6 separate regions of the Homo sapiens genome follow, and all the other regions are linked to region 3. The links are contacts of gene promoters, found by promoter capture Hi-C in blood cells and fetal thymus (Javierre and others, 2016). All regions are on one chromosome and are shown on one strand. Each heading gives the region's core, a stretch centred on a gene start or on the middle of the fragment in contact. The rest is flanking DNA. Distances are from core to core; before and after follow the strand shown.

What was found. The method cuts DNA at HindIII sites, captures the fragments that hold promoters and counts their contacts. A CHiCAGO score of 5 or more calls a contact.
Region 1: a fragment that was not itself captured here is called in contact with the fragment with the promoter of SSTR2 in region 3 in 1 of 17 cell types (M0 macrophages); the score reaches 5.0 in M0 macrophages.
Region 2: a contact is called between a fragment that was not itself captured here and the fragment with the promoter of SSTR2 in region 3, in 7 of 17 cell types (M0 macrophages, M2 macrophages, monocytes and 4 more). The highest score is 22.7, in M0 macrophages.
Region 4: a fragment that was not itself captured here is called in contact with the fragment with the promoter of SSTR2 in region 3 in 3 of 17 cell types (M0 macrophages, monocytes and M2 macrophages); the score reaches 8.0 in M0 macrophages.
Region 5: a fragment that was not itself captured here is called in contact with the fragment with the promoter of SSTR2 in region 3 in 3 of 17 cell types (M2 macrophages, M0 macrophages and M1 macrophages); the score reaches 6.6 in M2 macrophages.
Region 6: a contact is called between a fragment that was not itself captured here and the fragment with the promoter of SSTR2 in region 3, in 4 of 17 cell types (M1 macrophages, M0 macrophages, M2 macrophages and 1 more). The highest score is 9.3, in M1 macrophages.

The regions. Positions count from the first base shown.
Region 1 is chr17:72,959,248-72,962,765 of GRCh38, forward strand. The region is part of intron 4 of SLC39A11 (solute carrier family 39 member 11); the gene reads right to left. Among named protein-coding and RNA genes, the nearest start is that of SLC39A11, 130 kb to the right of the region's middle. The HindIII fragment of the contact is 9,360 bases long and covers 1-3,518 here.
Region 2 is chr17:72,977,914-72,981,238 of GRCh38, forward strand. All of the region lies in intron 4 of SLC39A11 (solute carrier family 39 member 11), which reads right to left. Among named protein-coding and RNA genes, the nearest start is that of SLC39A11, 110 kb to the right of the region's middle. RefSeq lists an enhancer at 1-491. The HindIII fragment of the contact is 2,484 bases long and covers 106-2,589 here.
Region 3 is chr17:73,163,031-73,166,666 of GRCh38, forward strand. It overlaps SSTR2 (somatostatin receptor 2), which reads left to right and starts at 1,980. Exons shown (of 2, transcript NM_001050.3): 1 at 1,980-2,258. It also overlaps the pseudogene POLR3KP2. RefSeq lists an enhancer at 1,105-1,354 and a silencer at 1,895-2,234. The HindIII fragment of the contact is 15,303 bases long and covers 1-3,636 here.
Region 4 is chr17:73,020,216-73,023,671 of GRCh38, forward strand. The region is part of intron 4 of SLC39A11 (solute carrier family 39 member 11); the gene reads right to left. Among named protein-coding and RNA genes, the nearest start is that of SLC39A11, 71 kb to the right of the region's middle. The HindIII fragment of the contact is 2,729 bases long and covers 27-2,755 here.
Region 5 is chr17:72,924,712-72,928,175 of GRCh38, forward strand. All of the region lies in intron 5 of SLC39A11 (solute carrier family 39 member 11), which reads right to left. Among named protein-coding and RNA genes, the nearest start is that of SLC39A11, 170 kb to the right of the region's middle. The HindIII fragment of the contact is 6,640 bases long and covers 1-3,464 here.
Region 6 is chr17:72,942,547-72,945,792 of GRCh38, forward strand. The region is part of intron 5 of SLC39A11 (solute carrier family 39 member 11); the gene reads right to left. Among named protein-coding and RNA genes, the nearest start is that of SLC39A11, 150 kb to the right of the region's middle. The HindIII fragment of the contact is 2,203 bases long and covers 671-2,873 here.

The DNA of each region.
Region 1 (3,518 bases), core at 197-2,696, 200 kb before region 3:
AAAATCATGGAATCAACCCAAATGCCCATCAGTCAATGAGTGGACAAAGAAACTGGTGTATGTATGTGTGTGTGTGTGTATATATATATATATATATATATATATATATATATATATATGATCGAATACTACACTCAGCCATAAGAATGATTGAATTAACAGCATTCGCAGTGACCTGGATGAGATTGGTGACTATTATTCTAAGTGAAGTAACTCAAGAATGGAAAACCAAACATCATATGTTCTCACTGATATGTGGGAGCTAAGCTATAAGGACACAAAGGCATAAGGATGATACAACGGACTTTGGGAACTTGGGGGGAAGGGTGGCAGAGGGAGGAGGGATAAAAGACTACAAACAGGGTGCTGTATACTGCTCGGGTGATGGGTGCACCAAAGTCTCACAAACCACCACTAAAGAACTTACTCATGTAACCAAATACCACCTGTACCCCAATAACCTATGGAAAAAAATTTTTTTAAATATATACTAATATTGAGAACCTAACAATGATTCTTCTAAGCTCAAAAATCACAAAAACTATTTAAGTCACCACTCTCTGTGCCTCCAGTGGTCAAAGTAGGAGCCAAGAGTCCATGTGTACCTCTGTACATGGACAAAATCTCCTTAATTCCTCATTCTGTCTTAAACCACAATTTCCCAGAGTTCCCTGCTTCGTGAGATGCTCCAAGGGAAAGATTCTGCAGACAAATATGTTTGGTGAGGTCTATTTCATAAGCAGATAAAGATTCTGAGAAATCCCGCAGTAAAGAACAGGGTTTTGTTTAATCCTATATTTCCCATACTTATTTGGCCACATATAAAGCCTATTCATACTCAGCAGATGAACTTTTAGGGGACAGTGTTTAATGCAATTCTATTCTGTATTCAATGAGCAGAATACTCAGCAAAATATTTCTCCTTACACAGCAGCATGGTCATATTTATCCAGGGGAAAAGGCACTGGAACCCTTGGCCTCAAAATGTCTATCACTTTCACAAATAAATGTCTTTGTTTACCATCATTAAAAAATGATTCAGTAGCATTCATCATAGATAGATAGATAAATAGATAAAAATGATTCAGTAGCATTTATCATAGATAGATGGATGGATAGGTAGCCTCTTGTATACATAGGTAGGTAGGTAGGTAGGTAGGTAGATAGATTGACAGATAGATAGATAAATAGCCTCTTGTAGTCATACCAGCTGGAGATTACAAAAACCAAGAAGGTAATTTTTCTATAAAACCCAGCCCTCAGGCTGGATGTGGTGGTTCACGCCTGTAATCCCAGCACTTTGGGAGGCTGAGGCAGGAGAATCCCTTGACCCCACGAGTTTGAGACCAACCTGAACATGGCGAGACCCCATCTCTACAAAAAATAAAAGTAAAAAATTAAATTAAATTTAATTAAATTAAAAAGCGGGTATAGTGGCATATCTCTGTGGTCCCAGCTACTAGGGAGGCAGGAGGATCGCTTGGGCCCAACAGCTGAAGGCTGCAGTGAGCCATGATCGCACCACTGTACTCCTGCCAAGCAACATAGTGAGACCTTGTCTCAAAAAACAAACAAACAACAAAAAAAAAACCCTTCCTTTTTCTTCACCACAATTTATAAAAATAAAAGTAAGTACACCAGCGCTTCTATTACCAATCCTGGAAAAGAGATCTTTATCTCAGCACTGCTGAGGAAAAAAGGTTAAAGTATGGCTTATCAACATTTTTCATAGCTTTGGCAACCATAAAATGATTTTTCCTGACTCCAGGAACACGAGGGTGAGAGAGAGTGTGTGCACAAAAGAGCCAGCATGAAAGAGCGAGCCTAAGACAGTCACAAGCCACCAAACAGAGTGGACTGATGGCTCAGGAGGCCTGTTCTCATCACCTTCTGGTGAGACCTCCGAGTATTAGGACAATGGATAAGGCTGGAAAGAAATATGCTTGCTATTCTCACATCAGTTAGAATGGCGATCATTAAAAGTCAGGAAACAAAGATGCTGGAGAGGACGTGGAGAAATAGGAACACTTTTACACTGTTGGTGGGATTGTAAATTAGTTCAACCATCGTGGAGAAAGTGTGGTGATTCCTCAAGGATCTAGACCAGAAATACCATTTGACCCAGCAATCCCATTACTGGGTATAGACCCAAAGGATTATAAATCATTTTACTATAAAGACACATGCACACGTATGTTTATTGCAGCACTGTTCACAATAGCAAAGACTTGGAACCAACCCAAATGTCCATCAATGACAGACTGGATTAAAAAAATGTGGCACATATACACCATGGAATACTATGCAGCCATAAAAAAGGATGAGTTCATGTCCTTTGCAGGGACATGGATGAAGCTGGAAACCATCACTCTCAGCAAACTATCACAAGGACAGAAAACCAAACACCGCATGTTCTCACTCATAGGTGGGAATTGAACAATGAGATCACTTGGACACGGGGCGGGGAACATCACACACTGGGGCCTGTCAGGAGGTGGGGGGCTGGGGGAGGGATAATATTAAAAGAAATACCTAATGTAAATGATGAGTTGATGGGTGCAGCAAACCACCATGGCACATGTATACCTATGTATCAAACCTGCACATTGTGCACATGTACCCTAGAACTTAAAGTATAATAAGAAAAAAAAGAAAGAAATAGTATGCAAATGGTACCTAACTTACTTCAAAAGAAAAGCTGTGGCTTTGAAGAACGTGTTCAATGTTTCTTTAACGGGGCTTTATACATGGCATCACTCAACTTGGAGCAGAATTCATTATTAAACTTATCTGGGCTTGATGAGGACTTGAGAGCTGAGAAAGTACTGAAGCAGCTTGCTTCTAAGGGAAACATTTCTCTGCTTCCTGCTGTGGGTATGTGGAGACTGGCATCTTCCCTTCTCTCTCTTTTCTAAGCCTAAATTCCAAAGCAAATAACCAAATTGAGACATACACCATGCCTGGATAAGATTGTCACTGCTGCATGAAGAATTACCACAAGTCCAGAGGCCTCAAACAACACTCCTTTTTCACCACCGTTTCCATGGGGCCAGAGTCCAGGGATCGGTGCAGCTAGGTCCTCTGCTCAGAGTCCCACAGGCTGAAATGAAGACAGTGGCTGGGGCTTTGATCTCCTCTGAGGCTCAGGGTCCTCTTCCAAGCATATTGGCTGTTGTAAGAATTACGTTTCTTGCAACTAAGAAGGATTCAGGTCCCTATTTTCTTGCTGGCTTCAGGCTGGTGACCTCTCTCTGTTCCTAGAGGCTGCCCTTGGGTTTTGGGGGTTTTTTGCTAATTTTTTTTTTCTGAGATGAAGTCTTGCTCTGTTGCCCAGGCTGGAGTACAGTGGCCCGACCTTGGCTCACTGTAACCTCTGCCTCCCGAGTTCATGCAATTCTCCTGTCTCAGCTTCCCAAGTAGCTGGGACTACAGGCACACGCCACCACACCTGGCTAAGTTTTGTATTTTTAGTAGAGACGGGGTTTCATCACATTGGTGAGGCCGGTCTCGAACTCCTG
Region 2 (3,325 bases), core at 98-2,597, 190 kb before region 3:
CCTGTTCCCAGGAGCCTCTCCCACCCACAAAGCCACAGGAATAGCAACCAGCAGTGAGTCACCGGGTCACCAGAGAAAAACCAGCAAAATGTCAGTCTCCGAGCAAGCTTCTCTATCATTGGATTCCTAGCCAGGGTGGTCGTTGAGAATCTTCCAGGCCGTCCTCCAGCCTGCGAACGCAGGGGAAGTACGGGGAGGTTCTAGTGAGAATCTGGGCTGTCGTCTGGGCCCCATTTGTAAACCCCAAACCACAGCCCTCTTCCCTGCCCTTAGGCGTTCCCTGCCTTCCTCTTCCTCTTCCTTCCTTCCTTCCTCTTTCCCTTCTTTCCTCCCTTGCTCCCTCCCTCCCTTCATCAGATATTTACCGAGCATTGTTCCCTGTGAGTCACTGTGCTGGTGTTGGCGACACGGCCAAGAACAAGCCTAACAAAGTCCCTGTCCTCAAGGAGCCTACATTGTGGTGGGGAAACCGATGATAAAGAAGTAAAAAATATACAAACGAACAAACTGGATAAGGAAGGTTGCTGACAAGTTCTAGGAAGGAAATAAACAGAGAAAGCCACGCACATTGTGGGGGGTCAGGGAGGAGCTTGGGAGGAGACATTTGCACTGAGGCAGCCACGCACAGAGCTTCGGGAACTCTGTTTCAGAGAAAAGGAATAGCAGATGCAAAGGCCGGGAGGTGGGACAGGGCTTGGGGAGCTTCTAAGAAGGGGGTGGGGAGACTGTGGGGAGCATGGAAGTGGAGGTGAGGGAGTAAGGGGGACCAGTCAGGAGGCCAGGTTCTGGGACAGAGACAGTAATGCCTTAGGCTGGGGTGGAAAGGAGTGGACAGGATGGGTCCACAAGACCTTTTTGGAAAGGTGCCAACAGCACTTGTTCATGAGAACGAAAGGAAACAACAAATCATCTCTGTTATCATTGAACACTTAGGGCACGCCAACTCTGGTAAGGCCCTGCCTTCAGCCCTGGGATACAAAGAAGGATGAGGTCTGGGTCTTGCTTTCAATGAGGTGACTGACTAGCCAGAAACATAATTTTACAAAGATAAAAAAGAAGGCCCTTGCTCTGGGGCTGACATGGTTAGGTTTTGTGTCTCCACCCAAATCTCATCTTGAATTGTAAACCCCATAATCACCACGTGTCAAGGGAGAGACCACGCGGAGGCAACTGAATCATGGGGGCAGTTTCCCCCATGCTGTTCTCGTGATAGTGAGTGAGTTCTCACGAGATCTGATGGTTTTATAAGGGGCTCCTCCCCCTTCGCTTGCCACTTCTCCTTCCTGCCGCCTTGTGAAGAAGCTACTTTTTCCCCTTCACCTTCCGCCATTATTGTAACTTTCCTGAGGGCTCCCCAGCCACGCAGAACTGTGAGTCAATTAAACCTCCTTCCTTTATAAATTACCCAGTCTTGGGCAGTTCTTTATAATGGTCTGAAAACAGACTAATACAGGGGCTATGTAAGTGAGACAGATAATTCTCACTCCAGTTATGCTGAGAGGAACCTGGACTCCGAGAGCACATCTGATCCATGGAAATACTGTCTGTCTTCACCTGTCTTGAGAAGCAGAGCAGGCAATGGGATGAGGGACGGATAGAGACATTCCCAAACATTACTGGTGAAAGTGTAAATCAGTACAAGCTCAGGAGAGGGCAACTTGAGAATTTCTAGAAAAGGGAAAATTTGGGTCCTGATGTGTGAAGCGCCACAGAAAATCGAGCCAGTTCAGGCCCCTGCCTTGTCCCTACCCAGCTGAGCTGCAAGGAGGCTGCTCTGCAGAGCTCACACTAACCCACCTCCCTCCAACACAGGACCCCAAAACAAATCTTGCCTATAACAGGTAGCATGCTGGAAAACCAAGACCTCAGATGATGCAGCTGGCAGAGTCTCAAACCTATGCTACTGCCCAAGGTAGATGGAGGCAAAGCAGCATGCCCTCCTCCCATAACCTGCTCCCCAAAGCGGCAAGCACCCCTCCCATGACTTGCTCCCCAAAGCAGCACACCCACTTCCCATGACCTCCCCAAAATGGTGCATCCTTCTCCCACGACTTGCTGCTGGATCCACTGATTCCTACACCAGCTCTCCAGCTGGGACAGCCACCCTTCCTGTCCCCAGCCACCCTGCTCTGTTAAGACCATGACATCCTATTTGCATCTATAACTCCCACCAACAATAGCGGGACCCAGGTGCTTATTTATGAAGATATTACTGTACATGTACAAATCTCAAAGAATCATCTAAAGAACGATTATTAACAAAAAAAGGTATTTTGTTTGGTGGCTCAAGACAAAATTAGTGGTGGCTCAAGACAAAATCAATAGCTTTTCTATGCAAAAACAACGGCCAGATGGAATATGTCATGAAATAGGAGACCCCGTCTGTAATACTCATAAAAGGAAATGAAATACCCAGGAATACATTCAACCCTAAACATGAAAAGTCCTTATGAAGAAAACTTAAAATGCTACTGGGAGACGCGATGAGTAGCCTGGATAGATGGAGTGGTGAGCTTTGTTCTTAGGCAGAAACGCTCATCGTCATAAACCTGTCATTTCTGCCTACGTTAATGTAGAAATTTGAAACAAAGCTTGTAAAAAAAAATACCTAGACGATGTTCTTGAAATTCGCAAGCTGATGCTAAAGTTCACATGGGAAAATATGCTGTAAGAATAACCAAGAAACTTTTGAAAAGGAACGTAATACAAGTAATACAGAAGACGAATAGATGATAAGACGTGAAGTTGCAGCAACTGAAACAGAATAGTACCTGAAGAGGCAGAGCTGAAAAGATTAAAGCGGCACCATATAATAAAAATAGAATGTGAGGCTGGGCACGGTGGCTCATGCCTGTAATCCCGACACTTTGGGAGGCTGAGGCGGGTGGATCAAAGAGGTCAGGAGTTTGAGACCAGCCTGGCCAAGATGGTGAAACCCCGTCTCTACTAAAAATACAAAAATTAGCCAGGCATGATGGTGGGTGCCTATAATCCCAGCCACTATGGAGGCTGAGGCAGAGAATTACTTGAACCTAGAAGGCAGAGGTTATAGTGAGCTGAGATCATGCCACTGCATTCCAGCCTGGGTGACAGAGGGAGACTCCATCTCAAAAAAAAAAAAAAAATAGAATGTGAGCTACAAATATAACATTAAATTTTCTGGTAGGCACAATCACCAAGGGGAAGGAAACAGGTGAAATTAATTGTAATAACATATTTTATTTTATCCAAATATATCCAAAATAGTTTCACTTCAATAAGGTAAGCAATATAAAAATTGGTAATGAGATATTTTATACATATATATTTTTAGTAAGTCTTCAAA
Region 3 (3,636 bases), core at 730-3,229:
CCTAATCCCTCCAGTGGTGTCCACACTGAGTCCTGCAGCACTGGTAGAAGGTGGTCTTCGGCTCATCTGCAGAGTGGGTCTGAAGCTACATGTAGTAAGCACAAGGAGGTTCTCATTGAGGACATGGCTCTGCAGTAGAGTCAACATCCTCCCAGGCAGCTGCTCCCCCAAGCCCATCATCCACTTCTTTCAGCTTTGAGTACTTCCAATTTGTTACCTTGTGGGTGAAGTGCACACAGAGGCACGTGTTGCAGGCGAGGGAGTGGCAGCGGCAGCGCTGTCCCTCCTCCACGATCAGCCCATCCCTGCAGCCAGGGTAGAACAGCAGCATCATCTCGGACTCTGCTGGCTCCAGTTATTATTTTTTTTAATGAAACGTAAATCTGGTATTAACAGTTTGAGAACTTTTAGGAAAGGAATTTGAGGGCAGAGTGGGCACTTCCTGGCTCTTCCTTCTTTTCCTGGAAACCAGTCAGATTACTGGTTTTAAACTGGAGGTGGCAACAGGCATTGTAGCAACTGTGTGGCCAGAGGATGCCGAGTTCCCCTGAGCACAATTCCACGATGCCCTCCTGATATTACTATTACCTCTCTGCCTCTCCCTCTTCCCACTGACGGTGAGCAGACACAGCCCTCTTCCAGTGAGCTAGCCACCCCAGCCCTTCCACTTGCATACACATGTCTAAAAGAGATGCTGGCTCCCAGATTGACTCCTGGAACTTAAGGCAATTGCAGCTCAATTTCCATCTCACCCTGAGCTCCAGGATGCCAAGATTTAAGCCCTATCATGACCAACGTCTCAGAGAGAGATGGAAACTCCTGATCCCCATCTCACAGTGGGTACCCCAAGATACAGCTTGGCCCAGATAGAAGAGAGAGCTGGCTGCTGCTGTACCTGGTGGTTGCTTTTCCATGTCACTCATCTATCTCTAAGGCTCACCCCACCTGCCACACAGCTTCTGGACTTTTACTTTTCCCTGGTGAATTGGAAATCAGATAATAGGATGGACAAATCAAGGCAGCTCAGCTCACAGAGAAAGCTAGTTGGGGTTTGCTTTCTGTTTTCACATCCTCTAAAACTGTACTGAGGATGGTGTGTGTGTGTGTGTGTGTGTGTGTGTGTGTGTATACCTATGTACTTGGAGGAGGGTGAGGAAGGGGAGGCTGCAGGATTGATTATGACTTATTAAACTATTGGAAAAGAGGCTGAATCATCACAGTCAAAAATAAACAGCTGCAACTCCATGCGACTCCCACTTCTTGCCTGCTCCCCTTTGCTCCCTCACAGCATGTAGGAGAGACTGTGCTGGGTCAGACCAGCAGGTGCTGACTGACGTGGCTACAGCAAGGGGACCACCTGTATGGCCGCTGCACCTCCAAGCTGTGGGACGCAGGGACAGCTGGGACCAGTCGACGTCCACTGGCCCTCTGATGGCTCCTAGGACTGAATCTTGGACTCCAGGTGCGGGTTTACACTCCCTGCGCTCATTGGGAACTGCATGGAGAAGCGCTATCCCCTGAGCCCTTTTTCTCCCTACTCTTAGCCTGGCCCTGCGCCCTGCGCCCGGGGCTGGCCCACGGTAAACACAGCTTTGCTAACTTGTTTGGCTAAGGAAATCACAGAGGTCCCGGTATAAGTCTGGGTCACCCCGGCCGCCACTCCAGCTGCCTAGAATATATGGGTGGAAGGGAATCGACTCTGTGAAATCAGAGGGAAAATAGCGCTTGTCCTTGCCATGAGTCTTGAGGAGACCGAAAACGCTTAACCTTTTACGCCCCCGCAGGCGGGTCCCCTCTCTCCCCGCTCCCCGGCTGTCTGTAAGCTCTGCCTGCGGCCACCCGCAGGCGTTTCAGCCGGTCTCACCCCTGTCCTTCTGCAGGACCCGGGAGGAGGGGTTGGGGGGGCGGAGCGAAGCCGCTGTGACGTAGCGGGAGGGGGGCGTGGGGAAATGTGCCGAGGGGCCCGGGCTGGCTGGGCCAGTCCCAGCGGCGCAGCCACCCATGCGCGCGCGCTCGCAAGACCACCAGCGCCCAGAGCCCCAGTCTGAGGCTTGGCGCCGGGGGTCTGCGGGCGAGGGGAGCTCTCTACGTGCGAGGGGCTAGCGGGAGCCGGCACAAGAGGGTCGAGGAGCCAGGAACCCCAAACGTCCGGCGCCAGGCGCTAGCCAAGCTGCTGCGCGCCCCGGCGCCCAGCTGGCTCGGGGACAGCCGCTGGGTGTCGGAGACCGGAGCTAGCGGATTGCAGCGGAAAAGCAAAGGTGAGGGGTGTGTGTGTGTGTGTGTGTGTGTGTGTGTGTGTGTGTGTGATAAGAGAGATGGAGGGAGCGAGAAGCGCACTTGGGCACCTGTGTGCATCTGCGCTGATGGTGGTGTGCCCATCCGAGTGCCTGAGCTTAGGTCCCGGTGCGTGATTCTCCGCTCTTGTGCCTTTTGGGGTGATTGTAGTAGGAATGAACGACAACGGGTACCCTTGCCTGAGTAAGGGGGCTGTGGGTAGAGTGTGCTGGAACGGACGTGTCCTCGCAGCCTCATGCCCGTGTGCGTGGCGTGTGCCCTTTAGCCCGAGATTTCAGGTAGCTGCGACGGGTGACAACTTCTCTCCCAGCCCCCTACAAAAGAGACCTGGCGCGAGGGGAGCGAGGCCGTGAGATGCCAGCTGGGGCTCCTGCGGGAGCGCACCCGGAGATCCGAGCCTGCCAGAGGCAGGCGGCGGGCGCAGAGCGGAGAAAGAGGGGCTTCTCTCCCTAGACGCTGAACGATCTAGGATCCGTCCCCGTCCCCCACCTCGGGACAGAAAGGACAGTTTGTCTAGGTTTGGAGAGAAAAAACCACTGCATAGGCCGTGCCCAAAAGCCGCTGGCCAAGTCCCCCAAGCGACTGTCTTCTGCGCCCCGATGTCTCTGTCCTCAGCGCCCCCCCCCCACACCCGGCACCCCTGCTGTGCGTTTCGATACTGGGCGTGCTGGCGCCACAATCTCCGCTCTTGCCTCGTCTTCCTGGAAATGGCACAGAGTTCTTTGGGAAACCCTTGCTCTGAGGATCAGCGAGTTGGATGGCCAGGAGGAGGACTTTCTGTGCCAGCCGGGAGCAACCGGCTCCGCGGTCCTGACACTCGCCCCTCCATTTCTCAACCCCGTAGGCCAGCACCGCCCCGGCTTTTCCCAGGCGCTCACGCGCCGCGGTGGCCCTCAGGGGCTTTTGTCACCCTGCCAGTGGGGGCTCTCGCTCTAGCCGCACAGAGACCAAGCCGGGTTCTGCAGGCCCTGAGGGAGGCGGGGGGTGGGAAGTGAATGCGGGAAACATGATGGGGAGAGGAGAAACTGAAGCTGAGTAGGATTTAGGACCTCCCCTGATGTCGGGTCGCCATCCCAACACTCATTTCTTGGGCTGGTAATCACAGCCCCTATGTAAAAGGGGGGCGGGGGGGGCAGGTGCGTGAGACCATTCTCACCCTCCTCTCTACAGAGCCTGGACATGGTTCAGAGGAAACCAACCACTAGCCATTTCCAGCATCTAACAATTCTTGGGCTGGAAAAACAAAGAATGCAGAAAACGAAACTTCCTTGTACATTTAATTTAACCACAATTCATCTAGAATTGTCTGCCTGGCATTGGAATATTCTTTCTCTGAAACAA
Region 4 (3,456 bases), core at 141-2,640, 140 kb before region 3:
GGAGCACTAGCCCCAGTGGGATGGGAAGCTTTTGGAGGTAATTAGGGTTACATGAAGTCATGAGGATGGGACCCTCATAATAGGATTAGTGTCCTTGTAAGAAGAGACATCAGAGAGCTCGCCCTCTCTCATTCTCTCTACCATGTGAGAACACAAGAAGGTGGCCATCTGCAAGACAGAAAGAGAGCCCTCACCAGGAACTGAATCTGCCAGCACCTTGATATTTTTCTGTTCTTTAAGCCAGACTTCAGTATTTTTTTATGGCAGCCCAAGCCAATTTAGATAGCAGGAACCCACTTAGCTGATGTCTGCCTTGACTTTTACATGGAGCAGTATTTCTAAAGGAAACCAAGTGAAATCTGAAAAGAACTTCTGCTTCAGCTTATACTGTTCATGACCTCCCCAGGGGACCATGTGAGAGAGAACAATGCTTTTGGGTTTTTGGGGGGTCTTTTTGTTTCTTTCTTTTTTTTTTTTTTTTTTTTTGAGACGGAGTCTCACTCTATCACCCAGGCTGGAGTCAGTGGTGCAATCTTGGCTTACTGCAACCTCCGCCTCCTGGGTTCAAGCAATTCTCCTGCCCCAGCCTCCCGAGTAGCTGGGGCTACAGGCGCGTGCCACCACACCCGGCTAATTTTTGTACTTTTAGTAGAGACAGGGTTTTACCATATTGGCCAGTCTGGTCTCGAACTCCTGACCTTGTGATCTACCTGCCTTGGCTTCCCAAAGTGCTGAGATTACAGGCATGAGCCACCACGCCCAGCCCGGAGAGAACAATGCTTTGGCTTTCCAGTGCTTTTCACAGAACTCCCTCCCTCCCATGAATTGGCCAAACTACATCTCTACCCCCAAACTTCACTTCTCATTTCTTCCCTGACACCAGCCAGAACTGTTTATCTAACTCTCCAACTTTGGTTCCTGAGCCTGGGGACCTGCATCAACACTACCAGCACCACGATCAATCCCAGAGGAGATGGACCACGCAGGCATGACCAGGACCTGCTCTATGGAGCACCCAGCTAGGGGTACGGTTATAAGCAAGACAGACACGGTCCCAGTCACCTTTGCCAAGAAGAAGGGATCCAGTGAAGATTAGATGCATACTCAGTTCCCTTACTCTTTCTTTCTTTCTTTTTTTTTTTAAGACATAGTCTTGCTCTGTCACCCAGGCTGGAGTGTAGTGGTGCAATCTCGGCTCACTACAACCTCTGCCTCCTGGGTTCAAGCAATTCTTGTGCCTCAGCCCTACTCAAGTAGCTGGGATTACAAGCAGGCACCACCATGCCCGGCTAACTTTTGTATTTTTAGTACAGACGGGGTTTCACCATGTTGGCCAGGCTGGTCATGAATTCCTGCCCAGCTCTGCCTCCCAAAGTGCTGGGATTACCAACGTGAGCCACCGCTCCCAGCCTCTTTCCCCTTCCATACTCATAATCATCTTTGCCACCCTCGGCTATCGACTGGTTCAATATGCTTCCACGGTGGCTTCTGGGCATTTTTCATAAACATGTGGCTGAGCTCAAGAGACAGCAAGAGAGGACAGGTATCCAGTTACAACTTTATGGCCTAACAAATGAAAAGGTGTTCTACCCACGGAGAAGGAAATCTAAGTCCTAGAAGGTTCCAACCAAGCCTATCTGCACTCAAGACTCCCCACCACTCTTAGACCAAGAACAAGAACCATTCCGTGCTTAAGGAGTTCCCCTCAGCAAGCCAGCCCACGCAGTGCGTGTGTGTGTGCGCGCGTGTTCGTGCCAGACCCACGGGGTCCTCCGGGAATATATATCGACAACAGAGGTGGGTTTCTGAACCCTGGTCAAAAGCCAGAGAGCAGACACGCTTGAAATGCTCTGTGCCACTGACTGCAAAGCCACAGATATTTTTCCTGCAGCCTCAATGAGCAAGGACTGTGTACACAGCTAACACACATGGGCATACAAATGCATAGAACAGTATTCACCAGCTGCCCTAGAAAACCAAGAGAGCATATGGCAAGAAAGAGAGAGTTCATGGCATGCATTCCCATCACCTAAATGCGCACTTGCAGGCATCCACAGAATGGTCAAAACTGCTGTCTTCTCTAAGAATCAGCCAGCAGGCCGAGTGCAGTGGCTCATGCCAGTAATCCCAGCACTTTGAGGGGCCAAGGCGGGCAAATCACCTGAGGTCAGGAGTTCGAGACCAGCCTGGCCAACATGGCGAAACCTGGTCTCTACTAAAAATACAAAAACTAGCTGGGCATGGTGGTGCACACCTATAATACCAGCTACCCAGGAGGCTGAGGCAGGAGAATCGCTTGAACCTGGGAGGCGAAGGATGCAGTGAGCCAAGATCCCGCCATTGCACTCCAGCCTGGGAGACAAGAGCAAAACTCCATCTTAAAAAAAAAAAAAAAAAAAAAAAAAGAATCGGCCAGCCCACCATACTAGGAAATTGCCTTCATCCCCTTTTCAGCCTGTCTGCATGCCAGCAGGACCCAAAACAACATCTGAACATCTTCCTAAAAGTCACGGGAGGCTGTGGAATGCCTCCAAAGGTGGAAGAAACAATGCTAACCATGGCTTCCAGTTGCCCCTGGGAATACATTTGGTACCCAGGACAGCCTGAATGCCAGCTCTCTCCAAACTTCACACTATGAAGGGCCTGTGGCTTCAGTGTGTCAAGAGCAACCCCACCCTGTGAATTAAAATATCCTGTTTCACAAAGAAAAAAAAAAACTCAGTTTTCCTTTGCCAGTGAACCCTTCTGAACAATAAGCTTTCTCAACCCTCCCCAAGCCCAGAATTATCAGGCACCGCTTCCATTACTGCAAGCTCACAGGTTTCCTCCCTTAGAAACTGAAGTATTAATTAGTACTGTGTATTTGTATTCCTTAGCCTGCCATGCCCCTCAGGGCATAGCCAGCCAGCCCACTGTTCCAGTGTCAGGGAAGCGACCACTGGTTCAGAACGCCCAGTGCCCAACTAACAGCTGAGCTCCTGCCACTCTACCATCTTTCAATCACAGTGCCTAAAAAAAAAAAAAGATGTTACCCTGGGCTGAATTGTGCCCCCCAAAATCCATGTATCAAAGCTCTAACCCCCTATACTTTATAATGTGACTGTATTTAGAGATAGGGCCAGTAGAAAATCAACGTTTTAAACTGAAGATGGGCCAGGTGCCATGGTTAATGCCTGTAATCCCAACACTGTGGGATTCCAAGGTAGGAGGACTGCTTGAGCCCAAGAGTTGAAAAGGTGTCCAATCAAAATGGTGCTGGTTTTTTTTGTTGTTGTTTGTTTGTTTTGTGTTTTTGAGGCAGTGTCTCACTCTTGCCCAGGCTGGAGTGCAGTGGTGTGATCTCGGCTCACTGCAACCTCTGTCTCCTGGGTTCAAGTGATTCTCCTGCCTCAGCCTCCCAAGTAGCTGGGACTACAGGTGTGTGCCACCACGCCTGGCTAATTTTTTGTATTTTTA
Region 5 (3,464 bases), core at 859-3,358, 240 kb before region 3:
GTCAGAGAGAGGCCAGGCACGGTGGCTCACACCTGTAATCCCAGCACCTTGGGAGGCCAAGGCGGGTGGATCACGAGGTCAGGAGTTCGAGACCAGCCTGGCCAACATAGTGAAACCCCGTCTCTACTACAAATACAAAAATTAGCCAGGCATGGTGGCGTGCACCTGTAGTCCCAGCTGCTCGGGAGGCTGAGGCCAGAGAAACACTTGAACCTGGGAGTCAGAGGTTGCAGTGAGCCGAGATTGTGCCACTGCACTCCAGCCTGGGTGACAGAGTGAGACTCCATTTCAAAAAAAAAAAAAAAAAAAAGCCATAGAGAACAATGGATTTGAGAGCTTCTCATTTGAGGAGAATTCCCTATCCCAAGGCAGGTGGGCCTCTCATGCTGTCCAGTGGAATTTCAGGATGGCCATGTGGATGCGCTTCTTTCTCTTTTGAAATACAAGTGCTCACTGGGGTTGGCCTATTCCTGTTCTTCCACGACGGACATGTGGACCAGGTCACTTATTTTGGTTCACAGCTCTCTAGATGAACAGCAACTAAATCCAGACCTGCTGATAGAATCTCATGAGATCCTGAAATTCACACCTGATTCCATGATTACATGCGAATTTTTAGGTATCTTCCATGAGTCAGAAATGAATTTATGTCGTATATAAATATACAAAATGATATATAAGATGATTATTTATGACCAGGAGGGAAGACTGTAGCAGACTGTATTATACAGTCATCCCTTGGTATCCGTAGGGATACCTCCTCCCTCCCACAGATACCAAGATCTGCTGATCAAGTCCCTTGAGCCAGCTCTTCATATCTGTGTGTTCCTCACCACGGATGCAGAAGGCCTACTCTATTCACAATTATTCATGTCTCCCTCCCCTTAGTAGATGTTTATGTCCCCACCTGGAATTGCAGTACCTGCCTATTGGCCAAGCATACTTCCCTGTACAATGTCAGACTTTGCCATATGATTTGTTAAGCAACAGAATGTGAATGGATGTGAACACTCCACATCCAAGCAGAATTCTTCAAGGACGTCATGAGTTTCCACCAATTCTCTAATTCTTCCCCTCCACCATGACATTGCACATGGCCACAGGGGCTGCTGTTTCAGCCTGGAATCCAGAAGGAGAAAACAATGTGACAGAGATACAGCCAACCTGCAGCCTGCATGTTATTTGGAAGCAAAATAAACCTTCAGGATGGCAAACCACTGAGATTTGAGGTTTCCTTGCTGTGAGGCAAAGCTGACTTAAGCAGCCTGTTCCACCCAGACAACTGAAATCAATGCTTAAACTCTTAGCAATACACAATCTAATGCAAGGAATATGCCTGGGGTCCCATGTGAGCCCTCAGGCTTTTAAATCCTCATCTTTCCTGGGAAGGAGACATAGAGCTCAATTGGTTCCATATAAATGCTTCTTCAACTTTTGAGTAAATTCCATCATCTTTGTGAGCCATCTAACAGTGAAAGTATTAACAATGAAATTTTAAAAAATCAAATCATAATTTCCTTTTAACCAGCCATGCTTTGAATGACAAATATGTAGAGAGTGAGTTTGTTCTCATCTCTCTTCTCACTGCATTCTTACTGTAGCCTCTCACCTAACCTTGTTGGCTCCAGAGACCAAAAGAAAGTCAGCTAAAGCCACAAAGGCCAAATGGACATGAGAAAATGTCTGAAAATGCAATATCAGGGATTGTGTTTGTCTTGTGAAGTCCTTTTTGCCCCTCAGGGAAAAATGACTGGAGGCTCCTCTGACTTCGGAGTAATTGCTTTGAATGTTTTGGGGGAAGATATTTTTTCTGGGGATGTTGCTGTTGTTGCTAAAATGATGTCCATCCAGAAAAACATAAGATTGCCTTTGTTTTTAAACTTGATTATAAACCAGCCCTGAGAAGCCTTCTAAGAGACTTCCATAAGTCTTTTGAATAATGCCATCATTCCAAGTTGACCATTTCCAGGGAGCCCAATCTCGTTTGCCAGATGAGTTCTGCCGTGTTTGTTCACATACCAGCTTTATTACGTTTTAATTAGTTGTTATCTTTGACCCCAAAAAGGGATTCCCGAGCACCTCAGAATGGAGCTCACAGGCACTGGTAGGCCTTAGTGGCCCTTTCTGCTCCTGACCCCAGGGGGACACCTGGGGATCAAGCTGAGGTGAGAAGCAGACTCAAAGTCTTCTGTTCACAGATAAATGCCCCACGTGACCTTGCACGGGAATTACTGAATAAAAGAGACCACTACCCTGATTTGAACAGCACCAGACACAGAGCTGTGAAAGAAAATGCCTCTTACAGATGACAATGTCCGGTTGCCCAGTCCTGGATTTGTTTTATTTATTTACTGAGACAGAGTCTCCCTCTGTCGCCCAGGCTGGAGTGCAGTGGTGTGATCTTAGCTCACAGCAACCTCCACCTCCTGGGTGCAAGCAGTTCTCCTGCCTCAGCCTCCCGAGTAGGTGGGACTACAGGCGCACACCACCATGCCCAGCTAACTTTTATTTTTATTTTTGGTAGAGATAAAAAAAAAATGGGGTTTCGCCATGTTGGCCAGGCTGCTCTTGAATTCCTCCTCTCAAGTGATCCACGCACCTTGGCCTCCCAAAGTGCTGGGATTACAGGCATGAGTCACTGCGCCCAGTCCCAGCCCTGGATTTGAACCAGTGTTCACTGAAGCATTTCCAAGCCTGTTGTTGTGCCTTCAGGTATATGAAATTCAACACATATTCTAAAAAGGACCTTGCCAATGTTCAGTAGAATGGAAGGCCATCCCATGAGTTTCAGAAACACTGATGCTGCTTTAAAACAAAAAACTCCCGGTGATTATAAGGCTTACCTGGAGTATCTCAAATATTTCAGTAGCGAAAATTCAAAGACAAGGACCAGCAGGAATGCCAATTCCATGTTGCAATCACGCCTCCCCACCCACAAGCATGTTATTAGTGTGTGCTTCCAATGCATAATTACCTTTCATTTTCCCATAGAATTTCAGGAAAAAAGAGCACAGGGCTCAGATGGTTTGTGAAATCAATAGGTGATTTCATCTCTTACATGCAAAAATAATCAGTTCTATTGAGAAGGAAATGTATACACACACACACACATACACACACACACTACACACACACACACTGGAAAGCCCACATTCAACAGTCAAGGTCACACACACAGGAAATATTCATGAAAAGGGAACATTTGTAGTATCATCCTGAGCCATATAGCACAGTCCAAAGTACATGGGTTAATAAAGGGTTAATAAAGGAAGAAACCATCTCACTCTCAATAAGGCTGAATTTGATGTGCTCAAATAACACTGATTGCTCCAAAAAAAAAGATAAAATTCCTACAAAGAGGAGGATCCCAGGCCTAACGATTGGATTCTTTTCTAGACAACTGTAACCACCCTCTGGACACTATAAAAGAAAACAAGTATCCAAAATAGCAGGATGACTATTTG
Region 6 (3,246 bases), core at 522-3,021, 220 kb before region 3:
TCAAATTTAAGATCACTAAATTTGACTGGAAATATCAGTGACAAAAGGAACATGTCCTTCAGGAAGACATGGAAAGTTAGAAGATACAGAAAAAGAAAGGTAATAGGAACCATGAAGCTGTTTAAATAAGTCATCTTTGCTTCCGTAGGCTTAGGCTATTCCAAGCAGTTTTAGCGCCAAGGAAACTTGGGAGTGGAATGTACGTGGCTGAGCTTATAGCGAGAACCAGCTGCTTCAGAGAAGAGATTGCATCCCACACTGCCTGGCTGCCCTCCCTAAGCCCCACACATTATGTCTAAAAAAATGCAATCCTCCAAAGCCTAGCCAGTGTGAAAACCCACCTATTGGGTTCATTGTTGAACTAGAGAAACCGTTCCCAGTCAACAGACAAACACGTAAGCAGTAGTAAAACATGAAGTCAATGGGCCAATACCTCCCTGTTCTTCAGTTCATCAAATCTTTTTCCAAAGGCACCTAAGGGAGGATGTTTAACAGGGAAAATGGGAGAAAGGGATGATTCCAAATACAAGACTGAAAGAGGACACTGTGATACCTGGAGAAGAGAGAGTGTCTTGAGGTGGAAGAAGGGGATCAAAGAGCAACTGAACTCCATCGTGTTCCCGAACAGGACAAGCCCTGGGGTTGCTGATCCGGGGTTGGGCACTTGAGAAGCTTGAGCTAGAAAGGAAAATCATCTCCTGCAAGACCATTTCCACAGGAAGAGTGCCACGCAGCACATCAGAAGCAGAACCAATAAGGAATTCAAGATTTTAGAGTAGAAAACAAAGACACTCAGCTAATGGCCAGTGACTGCAGTTCTACAATCTATAATCCACTTGACACGAGCTTGGCATCAGTTTCATTTTGCAAAACATGGCTTTGATAATTGCATCAGATCTGCAAGGCTGTGTAGGCAGAATTCTTATTGCCAAGTGAATTTTCCTATAAGAATAGGGCATTAAGAGAAAAATCTGTTTCTTACCTGAGTGTCGTACGGCTTACGCTTCCCTGACTTGAGTACCCATTCACTTTTTCCCCCAACACTTCAGAAAGATTTACAGAAAATGCACAGATGGCACCTCACAACTGAATAATCTCCTAAAGTAAATCCACCTCTTGCTCTACCAGAAAATAATGCCTTCTCCTGGTCTTTCCACAGATACACAAAATGATAGGCAATTCTCCTATGCTAATAGACCGATGAAATTCACCAATAATAATAGTGATGACAAAGTTCACTAGTGAAGAGTATCTATAACTGCATCAGACCAATCTGGTTCAACTTTTATGTAACAAAGCTGTGAGCTGCTTTTCAGTTGCCATGGACCCTCAGGTCATGTAACCTAAGCATGCTCAGATGAACCAAGTGTACAACCACAGGGGGAACCTAAGTGCTGGGACAGAGGAGTGGGACTGAATTAAGAAGCAGACACCACATGGCAGGATCCAGGATCCAATGAGATTGAACTCTGGCATCACCCCATGACAGGATCCAATCAGATAATGCCTCCTAACGTCACCTCATTGCAAGATCCAATCAGATCACACCTCATTACTTATGCTTATAAAACCCAACCCAACCCCCAGCTCAGGGAGACAGATTTGGGCATTCCCTCCTGTCTCCCTGCCAGTTGACTTGACTCCCAATAAAGCTGTTCTTCTCTCAAAAGCCAGTGCCACGGTATTGGCCTCTGTGTGCATCGGGCAGCAAGCCCACTGATGCTTGGTAACATTTCAACTTCCTCCCCCAGAACATACTGCATATTTAAATGGGGAAATTAACAATTAGTAAGAGAATCAACTGATTCACTTTTAACTACCTTCTCTTTAGCCTACAGAGGATGCTATGAAGAAAAGAAAAAAAACTCAACTTGACAGCTGAGTGGGGACAACTGAGACAGAGAAGCCCAAGATCTTGAACAACACTGGGTGTATGCAGCCATCTGGGGTGTGATGAAATATAACTTATAGTCCCTTGCCTTTCAAACACACACACACACATACACACACACACAGACTTTGCATAAAATGCAAGAGGCTCGTGAGTCCTTTGGTACTCATGCATGGAGCCCAGACATAAAGAACTCCTGGCCTCATTTCTAGAATTTACTCAACAATATAACTGTCCACAGAGATGTAGATACTAAAATGCTCTGTGCCACATTCTTTGCAATAGCAAAGCATCAGAATTAACCCCATGGGCATCCAGAGAGGGCTAATTAGGTAGCATCATGGCCAATAACAAGAATGGGATGGATCTATGAGCACCTCAGGAAAAAAACACCCAAGGGTACCGTTAAGTGCAAAAACATATGATACAGAACAATGGGTCAGGTGTGATTATAGAAACATGATAATTCTGAAAGGATGCACAAGAAACTAGAAACGATGTTTGTGTCTGAGATGGGGGGACTAGACCATAAGGGATTTGAAGGTGGAAGAAAAATTACTTTTAACCGATGTCATTATATTTTTAATTAAAAGAAAGCTAATTGGAGATGGATGGATGGATGGATGGATGGATGGGAGAGAGAATGAAAGAAAGAGAGACTGATAGATTTAAAGGAACTTCTTCTGGCCTACCTAAGTCCCAAAATATCCCCAGCCTTGAGAATAGCTGATATCAGAAAACATTGCACACTAAGACCTAAATAGGAAAGTATCTCATAAATGCTTTTCCCAGCTCAGGCTGCCGTCACTGCTGCTGCTCCTCAGAGCAGCTGAACTCCTCTCCCAGAGTGTGGCCTTTCTAGTTCTTCCTCTGGTCGAACCAATTATGGGACATTACAACAGCAGCACCAATATGATGTTTTAAAGGCTAATGTTATTCACTAAATACCCATTAAACCCATCTCCTTGCTCCATTTACAGCAAGCTTAAGGGCAAATCCAGATGGTACAAATAATGCATATTCAGGCTCCATCTGCATGAAGCCAGTTATCAAATAGCCATTATCAGTTTTGGAGTCCTCAGGTGCCTGACACCCACAGGTGTGTCCAGGTGAGAAGAACAGCGACCTTTCAAGAGATGGCTGGGAGATCATCTCTGTGCTTCCCCAAGAGCTGCATTTGCTTTTGCAGCTGAACAGCTAGCAACGGTTACAAGGGTTGCTTGGTAACCCGGTAACAGGCTGTGCCTAGTGTTCTTGAGCAGGGGGACTGGGTTACATCTCCCTCCCACACACCTCACTCCGCTACCACTTAACTCTGGGTTGGCCAAGAAGACCCAGCAGTACCCAGAGGCTGT